3 separate regions of the Homo sapiens genome follow, and all the other regions are linked to region 1. The links are contacts of gene promoters, found by promoter capture Hi-C in human tissues and cell types (Jung and others, 2019). All regions are on one chromosome and are shown on one strand. The core of a region is centred on a gene start or on the middle of the fragment in contact, and the rest is flanking DNA. Distances in the headings are between cores, read along the strand shown. Region 1 holds the start of CAMK2G (calcium/calmodulin dependent protein kinase II gamma). Region 2 has its middle 10 kb from the start of DUSP13B. Region 3 overlaps KAT6B (lysine acetyltransferase 6B).

Region 1 (3,417 bases), core at 360-2,859:
GGGGACAGGAGAAGGGATGGTATCTCCCTCTGCCATCCCACAAATATTTACTGAGGGTCAGGGGCTGAGTGTACAATGGTGAACAAAAGGTGCAGAGGCCCCGCTTTATTGGAGCCTACAATTCAGCGGGAAGCTAGTTTTTGTATTTTTAGTAGAGACAGGATTTCACCATGTTGGCCAGGCTGGTCTCGAACTCCTGACCTCATGATCCACCCGCCTCAGCCTCCCAAAGTGCTGGGATTACAGGTATGAGCCACCACGCCCGGCCCAGCAAATGTAGTTCTAATTAGGCACCAAGTACTATTCTAAGTGCCTTAGACCATTTAATGCTGACAGGCCTATGAGGTAGGTAATATTATTGTTCCCAGCCGGGCGAGGTGGCTCATGAAGCCACCTCTGTACTACATACATACTTCATTACTTCATGTATGTACTACATACATACTTCATTACTACAACATAATGAAGCCCCGTCTGTACTAAAAATACAAAAAAATTAGCCGAGCGTGGTGGCGCGCGCCCATAATCCCAGCTACTCGGGAGGCTGAGGCAGGAGAATCGCTTGAACCCAGGAGGTGGAGGCTGCAGTGAGCCAAGATCGCACCACTGCACTCCAGCCCGGGCAACAGCGCAAGACTCCGTCTCAAAAAAAAGATTCAGTGACTTACCCCAGGTCACAGAGCTGATCAGTGAGTTGCCTAGAAATCCAATCCAGGCAGTTTGATGCAAGTTCACGCTTAGACAGCTATGAGATAGCTCTACTGCCCCTTATACCAGTCAATGCATCACTACAAAATGTGGTAGGTGCCAGAAAATAAAAGTACGAGGGTGCCTTGCAAGAAAATGGGGATTTCCCCTTTCTTCCACTTTCTCTTCTAGCCCCCACTGCACAAAGCCTTTTCAAGTCTTCCTACTTCACCCCTTTCATTTCTGGCCGGATAGAGAATACTCTTTCATCTCTGCAGTTATGGTGCAGGAAGGCAGAGTCCTACCTGTATCCTTGCCCCTGGCCTGGTCTCCCTGATCAACCCGCGCCTGAAGGGTTTCTTTCTAATAATGGCCCTGGTGCTTGCGCAAGTCTAGACTGTCAGCTCCCAGAGGGAAGGCGGCTGGCAGCTGGCTCTGCGCAGGCTGGGGGCGCCTCCCGGGCGTGCAGCCTGGCACAGGCTCCTTGACCTTGGCTCTCTCCCCACGTGCTAGGAGCCCGGTTGGGGGCTCGGGACCCGCGTGTAGGACCCGTCCAGAGAGGTCAGTGGTCCAGACTCCTACACTCCTAACACATGCACCCTCGCATGCACGTTCCCGAGCCCGCGCGGGGTCCGCCCCGGGACAAGCCCATAAGTCGCGAACCTTCCAGCTCCGTCTGCCCAGACAGGTGGCCCGGAGCGGGGACCCCCTCCCCTCGGCTGCCCCGCGCGCCTGGCCCAGCGAGGGCGGCTCCGGGGCGGGGCGGGGCCGGCGGCGGGAGGCCCCTCCCCGGGGGCGGGCCGGGGGCCGGGCGGGGGGGGGGACTGGCGGGGCCTGGGGGCGGGGCGGGGCGGGCGGCGCGGGGGTGTCCCTCCCTCCCTCGCTCTCCCCGGTAAAGTCTCGCGGTGCTGCCGGGCTCAGCCCCGTCTCCTCCTCTTGCTCCCTCGGCCGGGCGGCGGTGACTGTGCACCGACGTCGGCGCGGGCTGCACCGCCGCGTCCGCCCGCCCGCCAGCATGGCCACCACCGCCACCTGCACCCGTTTCACCGACGACTACCAGCTCTTCGAGGAGCTTGGCAAGTACGGCCCGCCCGCCGCGGTCCCCTGCCTGCCCTGCCGCCCGGGAGCTATGCGGCTTCTCGCCCCGCCCCCCGGCCCTGCACCGGCCGCTGCGGCTCCCCCTCGGCCGCCCCACCCCCGCCTTTCCCGCCCGCCGCCTTCGGTCCCCGCGCCCCCCGCGCACTGCCCCGCATCCCCCTCCGCGCCCTGCAGCAACTGGCGGGGCCGCTGCTCCCCACGCGCCGCCGCGGACACCGCAGACCCCGGACCGCTCCCGGGTGCCCTCCAGCCCCGCCCCTCCGCACCCTTCAGGCGCCCCCCTCCCGACCACCTCCCAACGCTGCCCGGTTGCTCACTCCGCACCCTGAACCCAGGTCCCACGCGCCTCGCACTCAGGACCCTCCCCAGCCCTGCAGCCCTAGCTCTGCTGCGGAGCCCGGGCGTGGGGGGGCTGTTTGGCGCCCGGCCCCGCCCCCCGCGGGTGCCGCTCCAGGCTCCCAGCCCCGCGGCTGGGCAGTGCTGCGGCACCCCCGTCCCCTCCCCCCACCCCTGCAGTGGTCCCGGGAGCCGCGCCGCAGCCTCAGCATCCCCCTCCCCTCCGCACTGAGCTGGCCGCTGCAGCAGCCCCGGCCCCCCACCCCCACCCGCGGCGCCGAGCCCGGCCACTGCAGCCCCCGCCCCGCCCGCCCCCCCAGACGTTTCCAGAGCTCAGAGTGCGAGCTCCCGTTTGACGGGGACGTCAAGGAAAATAGCATGGGAAGGGGAGTTCTTGATGTCTGACTGTGTCCTCTCTTCCCTTGCTGTCAGTTGAGCCGGGATGCAGTGAGATGAAACCGGCTGTGGGGGGGTTTGAGCCTCACTTTGCCCCATGGTTGAGGGAGATTTCTCTTTCAGGGGATGATACCCTCTTTTTAATCTTTCCTTCCCCGACCTTCAACTGTTCCTGCTGAGAGAAGGGCAGGGTCTCTCTGCTCCCTTCTGCCCTGGTTCTCTTGGCCGGGACCGCAGGGCTGTCTGAGATGCAGCAGGTGTGTGTTTTCAGCATCGCCCACCCGCTCCTGATGTGCAGCCTGAGGTGGAGGCTGTTGCCTTGCCCAGGGACTGGATGAGGGGGTGGGAGCGCGGCACGCCACCCACATCTGTTCAGTGTCCTGCGGTGGCCGCGTCCTTTTGCCTCATGTTGGATGGTGGTGGTCACAGCGCCGGTGTGTGTGCATGTACGTGAGTGTGACTAGAGGTCTGGTGGTGGGAGCATCATCGTCCCCAGACTTGAAGTGTGTCTGTGTCACTCTGCCCTGCTCCGTGTCCCAGTTCTTTTCCCCTTCTCCCTCCAGGGGTGCTTTCTCTGTGGTCCGCAGGTGTGTGAAGAAAACCTCCACGCAGGAGTACGCAGCAAAAATCATCAATACCAAGAAGTTGTCTGCCCGGGGTGAGTGTTCCCTGTCTTGACCTCTTCCTGAGGGTGCCTCCAGGGGCCATGGTTTCTTTTGAGGAAGCCCCAGGAATTGGGGGTTGTGCGTTTTAGCACTTGGAGAGGAGTTGGAATTTCAGACTGGTTGGACTTTGTGTCAGGCTGAAGCCAGAAAAGGAGTTGCATGGGGGACTGGAAGCGCCCAGGTACAAAAGAATGAAGGAAGAGATGCAAGTAGCTGCAGTGGCCCCCAAAGGCTC
Region 2 (3,417 bases), core at 296-2,795, 1.2 Mb before region 1:
GGCTGAGGCAGGCAGATCACTTGAGGTCAAGAGTTGGAGACCAGCCTGGCCAACACGGTGAAACCCTATCTCTACTAAAAATACAAGAATTAGCGTGGTGTGGTGGTGCATATCTGTAGTTCCAGCTACTTGGGAGGCTGAGACACAAGAATCGCTTGAACCTGGGAGGAAGAGGCTGCAGTGAGCCAAGATTGCACCACTGTACTCCAGCCTGGGTGATAGAGCGAGACTCTGTCTCCAAAAACTAAATAAATAAAAATAAAACTTTAAAGAGGCTATATTACAAATAATCTTGCTTAAGAAAAAAGGTAATGATGACTCAGTTGGTAGTATTTAGATAAAGTAACCGTGTTGAAGAGAAGCTAAGCCAGTAAGTCATACTCTCCATCATTTCTTTCACTCCTCAATCCTGTAGGGTGGGTCGTGTGAACACCATTTTATGGGTGAGAACACAGGCCCAGGGAGATTAGGCCAGAACAGCAGCTAGTATTGATTGAGAACTTTATTATCTACCTGTGCCTTAGTCAGTCAGGCTAGGCCAATGACTCTGACAGCCCCAAAACCTGAGTGACCTAAACTCAGCAACACTTTATTGATTGATTGATATTTTTATTTTTTAGATAGCGACTCACTCTGTTGCCCAGGCTGGAGTCCAGTGGTACAATCACAGCTCACTGCAGCCTCGATTTTCTGGGCTCAAGGGGTCCTCCCACCTCAGCCTCCCAAGTAGTTGGGACCACAGGCACATGCCACCACGCCCAGCTGACTTTTTGTAGAGACGGGGTCTCCCTATGTTACCACTCTGTTCCCAAACTCCTGGACTCAAGCGATCCTCCTGCCTTGGCCTCCCAAAGTGCTGGGATGACAGGCATGAGCCACCACACCTGGCCAGGCCATGCTTTATTTTTTATTCAAACACAGGTAGATGGAGGGCCAGGAGAGTAAGCATGGAGGAATGGAGGCCAGGTCTACTACTGCCCCTCAAGTTCCATGGGCCAGAACCAGTCACATGGCCACACCTAACTGCAGGGGAAGCCAGGAAATAGTCTAGGGTGGTGCCCAAGAAGAAGAGGAAACTGCAGATATTGATGATCATGAGCTTTCTACAGCGGGCATTAAAAAAAACAAAAACAGGCTTTGCAGACGCCACAGCCACTGGCAGGAGCCCTGTACTATCAGCCATGGTTAACCCCACCATGTTCTTTGACATCGCCGCGAGCCCTTAGACTGTGTCTCCTTCGAGCTGTTTGCAGACAAAGTTTCAAAGACAGCAGAAAACTTTCGTGCTCTGAGCACTGGAGAGAAAGGATTTGGTTGTAAGGGTTCCTGCTTTCACAGAATTATTCCAGGGTTTATGTGTCAGGGTGGTGACTTCACATGCCATAATGGCACTGGTGGCAAGTCCATCTACTGGGAGAAATTTGATGATGAGAACTTCATCCTAAAGCATACAGGTCCTGGCATCTTATCCATGGCAAATGCTGGACCCAACACAAATGGTTCCCAGTTTTTCATCTGCACTGCCAAGACTAAGTGGTTGGATGGCAAGCATGTGGCCTTTGGCAAGGTGAAAGAAGGCATGAATATTGTGGAGGCCATGGAGGGTCCAGGAATGGCAAGACCAGCAAGAAGATCACCATTGCTGACTGTGGACAACTCTAATAAGTTTGACTTGTGTTTTATCTTAACCTCCAGACCATTCCTTCTGTAACTCAGGAGAGCATCCTTCCACCCAATTTGCTCGCAGTATCCTAGAATCTTTGTGCTCTCACTGCAGTTCCCTTTGGGTGCCATGTTTTCCTTGTTCCCTTCCATGCCCAGCTGGATTGCAGAGTTAAGTTTATGATTATGAAATAAAAACTAAATGCCAAACAAACAAACAAAATATATACATACACATACACACATGTATAATTTATATGTATAATTTTTACATTTGTATTAATTTAGAAATTATATATATGTATATACAATTAAACTCTCATAAACCCTAAGAGGTAGATAATGTTGTTATTCCCATTTTACAGATAAGAAAACTGAGGCTTAAAGAGCTTAAGTAAAGTTTCTCAGGTTGCTTAGCTAGCAGGGTAGAATCATACTACCAACTCAGTCAGTGAACCTGTGTTCTTAAACACTTCGTGAGCCTCCATTCTGGATTGGCCTTAGTGACTTGCTGGCCAGGAGAATGCAGCAGAAGCAGCATTCTGGGGCTTCCGAGGCTGTCATAAGACACTTTGCATCTTCTACCTGGGTCTCTTGGAATGTGCTCTCTGGGAATCCTGAGCCACCCTGTAGAAGTCGGCCTGTGCCCCACTCTGCCATGCTGGACTGGTCATGGGTAGGCCAACTGGTTGACAGCCTCACTGAGCCCAGACACTAGACATTTGTGTGACCCTTTCTTGTTTACTCCATACCAGCATATCTGCCAGCGAAATACCACAGAGTGACCTCTGTCAATGCCACATGGAACAGCAAAATTGTTTACTGAACCCTCCTGAATTACTGACCTAAAATGAGATATCAGAAAATGCTCTTGTTTGGAGTCACTAAGTTTTGGGGTAGTTTGTTACACATCAATGGGTAAGCAGCACAGGGGCAGAGCCAGGTCTGACCAGCAGCCCTGGCTTGTAGCCACTTCATTAGCCTCCAGAGGAGTGTGTGAGTGAGGAAGCGACAGGGCGGCTACATCCATCACCCCGGTGCTGAGTGCATGGAGATGAGAGGCCCTGTGTCTACAGGGGAATGAAGACGGCAATAGAGCTCCACTGGAGACCAGGAAAGATGTTAGGGGCCCAAGGGGGATATTGGTGGCAAAGGCCTTGAGATGGGGAGGGTGGAGAGGCTACCAGAAAGAGAACCTTTCCCCACTCCTCATCCACATCCCCAGCTCTTTCCTAAGCTCCCGCCATCCTACCTTCCTCCCAGGACAATAAACTCCAGCTGAGAGGCCCGAGACCTCCTTCCTGCCCTCGGCAAGGCCTCCTGGGGGTTCTGCTGGCCTCTAGCTCAGAGCCAGTCCTTGATGACTGCCTCCTCTGCTTTCTGCCCTGGGGTGGGGAGGGCAGTTGCAGTGTGGACTCCGTAACCAGGGAGGCCTTGGGGGAAACTTGGTTGGGGAAAACTCAAGGGGAACTGGCCTACCCCATGACATCCTCCCCAGGTACTACCCTCCCTGCCAAGCAGGAGGAACCACCACCATTATTCTCCTTTGCCTCAGATCACTCTGCTTTTCTCAGCTCATTCCCCCAGGTGTCTGCATTCATCTCCTCATCCGTGCTTCTTGATCCGTATGATGTCAGGTCAGCCTGGTCTCTCTCCTTGGGAGCTGCTAGCATTTCCCCTCCTCTGAGATTTTCTGCGCTCCGGCTGCTACTTCAGAGCCTTCCATCAGCCCATTCTTCCCCCACCCCCACCCTC
Region 3 (3,417 bases), core at 408-2,907, 1.2 Mb before region 1:
AATGAAAATGCACATTGTGATAGAGCACAATGCAGGAAATAGGCATGGAGGCAGAGAAAAGTGGGGAAAGGGGAGAAACCCTCTTTAGGCGGGGTGGTCAAGGAAGACCTCTCTTAGACTTGAAGGCACAAACCTTCCAAATGTGCCGGAGCATTCGAGGCTGAGGAACTGCCCATCAGTAAGGCTGGAGCTGGTGGCTGAGAGTGGGAGTGGAAGGAGAGGGGCAGAGGGACTTGATTCTATTCCAGGTACACAGAAGATTCACTGAAGGGTTTTAAGCCGGGGAATGGTATGATCTGTTTCAAGATCACTCTGGAAAGATCCTTTGGCTGAAGTATGGAGAACAGGTTGTAGGGAGTTAAGAAGCGAGGCAAGAGCAGTTAGGAGGCTGTTGACAGGAAAGGAAATGGGCTGGACTGACAGCACCAGGGGATTAGTATTCAAGATTATTTTGGAATTAACCCAGAAAACGGACGGGACCTCCCGAGATGGGGAGGGAAATGAGGGCTAACTGATCGAGGTTTCTCGGCAGTGCTTTAACACTGAGATGGGATGGACCAGAGCAGGAACGGAGGAGCGGTCGGAAATCACCAGTTCGGTTGTCATGCAGATGTACAAAAGGTGTCCCAGGTCATTTGACGTGGCATCTAAAGCTCAGAGGAATATTCACAACTGGGGATGTAATTCCGGGTGTCACCTGCAGAGAGGTGGAATTTGAAGTCATCATACTAGATGAGATGATGAGAGAAAACAGAGAGAACACTCCCGGCCTGAGTGTTGCAGAACATCAATGTTTATAGGTAAGCCTGGGTGGAGGAGGAAGGTCCAGGAAAGGGGATGGAGAAGGTAGAAGGAACGATGGAAACCTGGGTACAGAGAAATGGAAGGTGCTGCTTCATAATGTAACAGTACGTGTACTTTGAGTATCGAAGATTGATTGTAGACCAAGGCTTGCTCGCAGCCACAAAGGGATCTGTATTTATATAGCACTTAACAGTTTTTACAGCAACATGTATTCATTAGCCAAGCCTTTAAATCAGAGAGGTGACAAATTAGGGCCTTTCAGAATACAGTGTCCTAGAAAAAAAGAGCTGGGATTTGGAAAGACCTGGGTTTGTTTCAGCTCACACATTTTAGCTGGGTGAGTTTGGGTAATTAATGTAGCTTAATCTGAGCCTCAACATCCTGATCTGTACATTGGAAAGAATGGCCCCATTTCCTGCACAGGGTGGGTGTGTGGGAGGAGTTTGTGAAAGCTTTGTGACGATATTGTGAGTCATTACTTCTAAAATAGAATGTTGGTGAGGAAGGTGGATGCCCTCCCACCTGGCGTAGGCACCACTTGCAACTATTAAAACGTGAGGCTGGCAACTGACCACCACTTGGTACGACTCTTACAAATAATAGAACACAGTTAGGGTTTAAATGATGTGGCCTGTTAATGAATCTCAATCGAATGAATTCAGCTTTGATGAATCCAAGTTCCTGTTTCGCCAAATCCTTGGCGTCACATTCAGATGTGAACTGATTTCTCTAGTGAGAGTGGGTGAGGTGGAGGGCAGGGTGTTCTGAGGCCATCTCAGATCAGCAGTTTCCTTCCTATGCTAAGCCTTTCTGTTCCATCAAGGAATGTTGGGACTGGGGCCAGCACGGAAGCTCCTAGTCCTAGCTATGCTGCAGTCCTTAAGGAGCCTGGGCAACCGAGGTGTCCCTGGGACTGTTCTAAGATTAGGGTTTGGCAGGTCTGGGGCAATGATTGGGACTCTTCCACAAGCTCCTTTAGAGGGCTGTTAGGCTGGCAGGGTATGGGAACTCAGACATCGCACAAACCACAAGGTGTGATTAGCAGGTCATGGCCAAAGGGAACACAGAGGGGAATCTCAGCCCCCAGAGAATCTTAACCCAAGAGGAAAGAGACAAAATATGTGACAGGTCGGAGCCCGTTCGGGGCTCTGCTTCCCGATCAGATTGCTTCCAGGCCCCAACCCCACCTCCAGGGCTCGGGCAGCCTCTTGCCCGATGTGTGGCCCACTGGGCTGCCCAGTCCTTGGCCACTCCTGAATGGACGCAGTGTTCGATTTGTGCAGGCATAGACCACCACTTCCTACTCTGAGGATGGCTGATAGGTTTCTTTTCCTATTAGCACAGCAGCTTAAATGGATCTTTTCCCTTTGTGCTGACGGCCCTTCAGACGTGTCTTCTTGAAAGCCCTCCCTCAGCTGTTACATATATTACCCCCATTGACTTTGCAGTTGAGGAAGGAAGGGACTAAAAGATAAAATTGTGACACTAAACCCAATACACTTTGTAACTGTGAAAGAAAATAACGATAAGGGTGAGAGTACAAGGCAGAACTCCACTGGGCACCCTCTGTCTGCACAAGGCCTTTTATTCTGGTGTGTACGCTCTATCCTGCCCTTGCACGATTTTGGGTCCACTTTAAGGCTTATGTCTATGCTTTGTAAAACATCTAATTTTTGTGTGTGTGTGTTGAATCAACAGTGCAAAAGCAACTTTTTTCCTCCACAGGGTAGTGACCTGCTTAACAGAGGAGTTGCGAGCACACGTGTTCAGACACCTGGAGAGCTTAACGGGCTAGTTTCACACGGGTGCTAGGTCAAGCATTCATTTCTAGACTTGTTGCTCAAATAACCAAATTCAAGCAACACTCAGAACTTTCTCTGAACGCTATACTTGTGAATATTCACTTTTGGCAGGGGGTCTAAACTTTAGACTCTAAAGAAAACATACAATTAATCATTCACAACAGAGCAAAACGTTCACACTTTTTAAAAAGAAAATGATTTTTCAAACATACAATCCCAAATTGGGTGCTTTTTTTGGTATGAATCTTTATAAAAAGGAAGTTTGCTACCCTGGTGCGAGGCTTGGAGGGATGTTTCTACAGACTGTGCGAGTGAGGCAGCTGGATATTTGTGCGGGATCTCTTTGCAAATGAAGATCAAAGTCCAAAAGAAAAAAACAATTTCACTTTATTTTAAAGACAATGATTGGCATACAGAAGGTATGCACTCGCATAAAATAAACTTTCATGAAAAGCATTAAAATCCATTATAAATTAATTTATTAAATAGGTATTTGGTATATGTGATGGTTTTATTAGATATTACTCTTATTTATTGCCAACCCCTCCCCCAAAGTCAAAACAAATCAGAAAATCCCATAACTCCAATTTACACTAAATAATTTATTTTCCCAAAATGTGTATGTGTTCTGAGGCGTGACACATGATACAGTTCCATTGGTCATTCTCTATCAATCATAATATGACAGGACACAAGAGGCTAAAAATGGCTCATCATAATTTATTTTATGTTAAAATGTACAGCTTTTTTTTGTTTGTTTTTTGTTTTTTTGAAGTGACTGACTAAAAAGAGAACAGATAAATACAAGAGT

What was found. The method cuts DNA at HindIII sites, captures the fragments that hold promoters and counts their contacts. A contact is called where the count stands out against the background at its distance.
Region 2: a contact is called between a fragment that was not itself captured here and the fragment with the promoter of CAMK2G in region 1, in 1 of the 25 tissues and cell types used here (lymphoblastoid cells).
Region 3: a contact is called between a fragment that was not itself captured here and the fragment with the promoter of CAMK2G in region 1, in 1 of the 25 tissues and cell types used here (lymphoblastoid cells).

What each region holds. Positions count from the first base shown.
Region 1 is chr10:73,872,747-73,876,163 of GRCh38, reverse strand. It overlaps CAMK2G (calcium/calmodulin dependent protein kinase II gamma), which reads left to right and starts at 1,609. Exons shown (of 23, transcript NM_001367534.1): 1 at 1,609-1,767; 2 at 3,081-3,175. The coding sequence starts at 1,703. RefSeq lists an enhancer at 887-996 and silencers at 1,217-1,496, 1,507-1,666, 1,727-1,896, 2,157-2,216. The HindIII fragment of the contact is 10,637 bases long and covers 1-3,417 here.
Region 2 is chr10:75,087,490-75,090,906 of GRCh38, reverse strand. It overlaps the pseudogene PPIAP13. Among named protein-coding and RNA genes, the nearest start is that of DUSP13B, 10 kb to the left of the region's middle. The HindIII fragment of the contact is 6,630 bases long and covers 1-3,417 here.
Region 3 is chr10:75,032,183-75,035,599 of GRCh38, reverse strand. It overlaps KAT6B (lysine acetyltransferase 6B), which reads right to left. Exons shown (of 18, transcript NM_012330.4): 18 at 2,976-3,417. Among named protein-coding and RNA genes, the nearest start is that of SNORD172, 12 kb to the right of the region's middle. RefSeq lists an enhancer at 2,306-2,355. The HindIII fragment of the contact is 6,681 bases long and covers 1-3,417 here.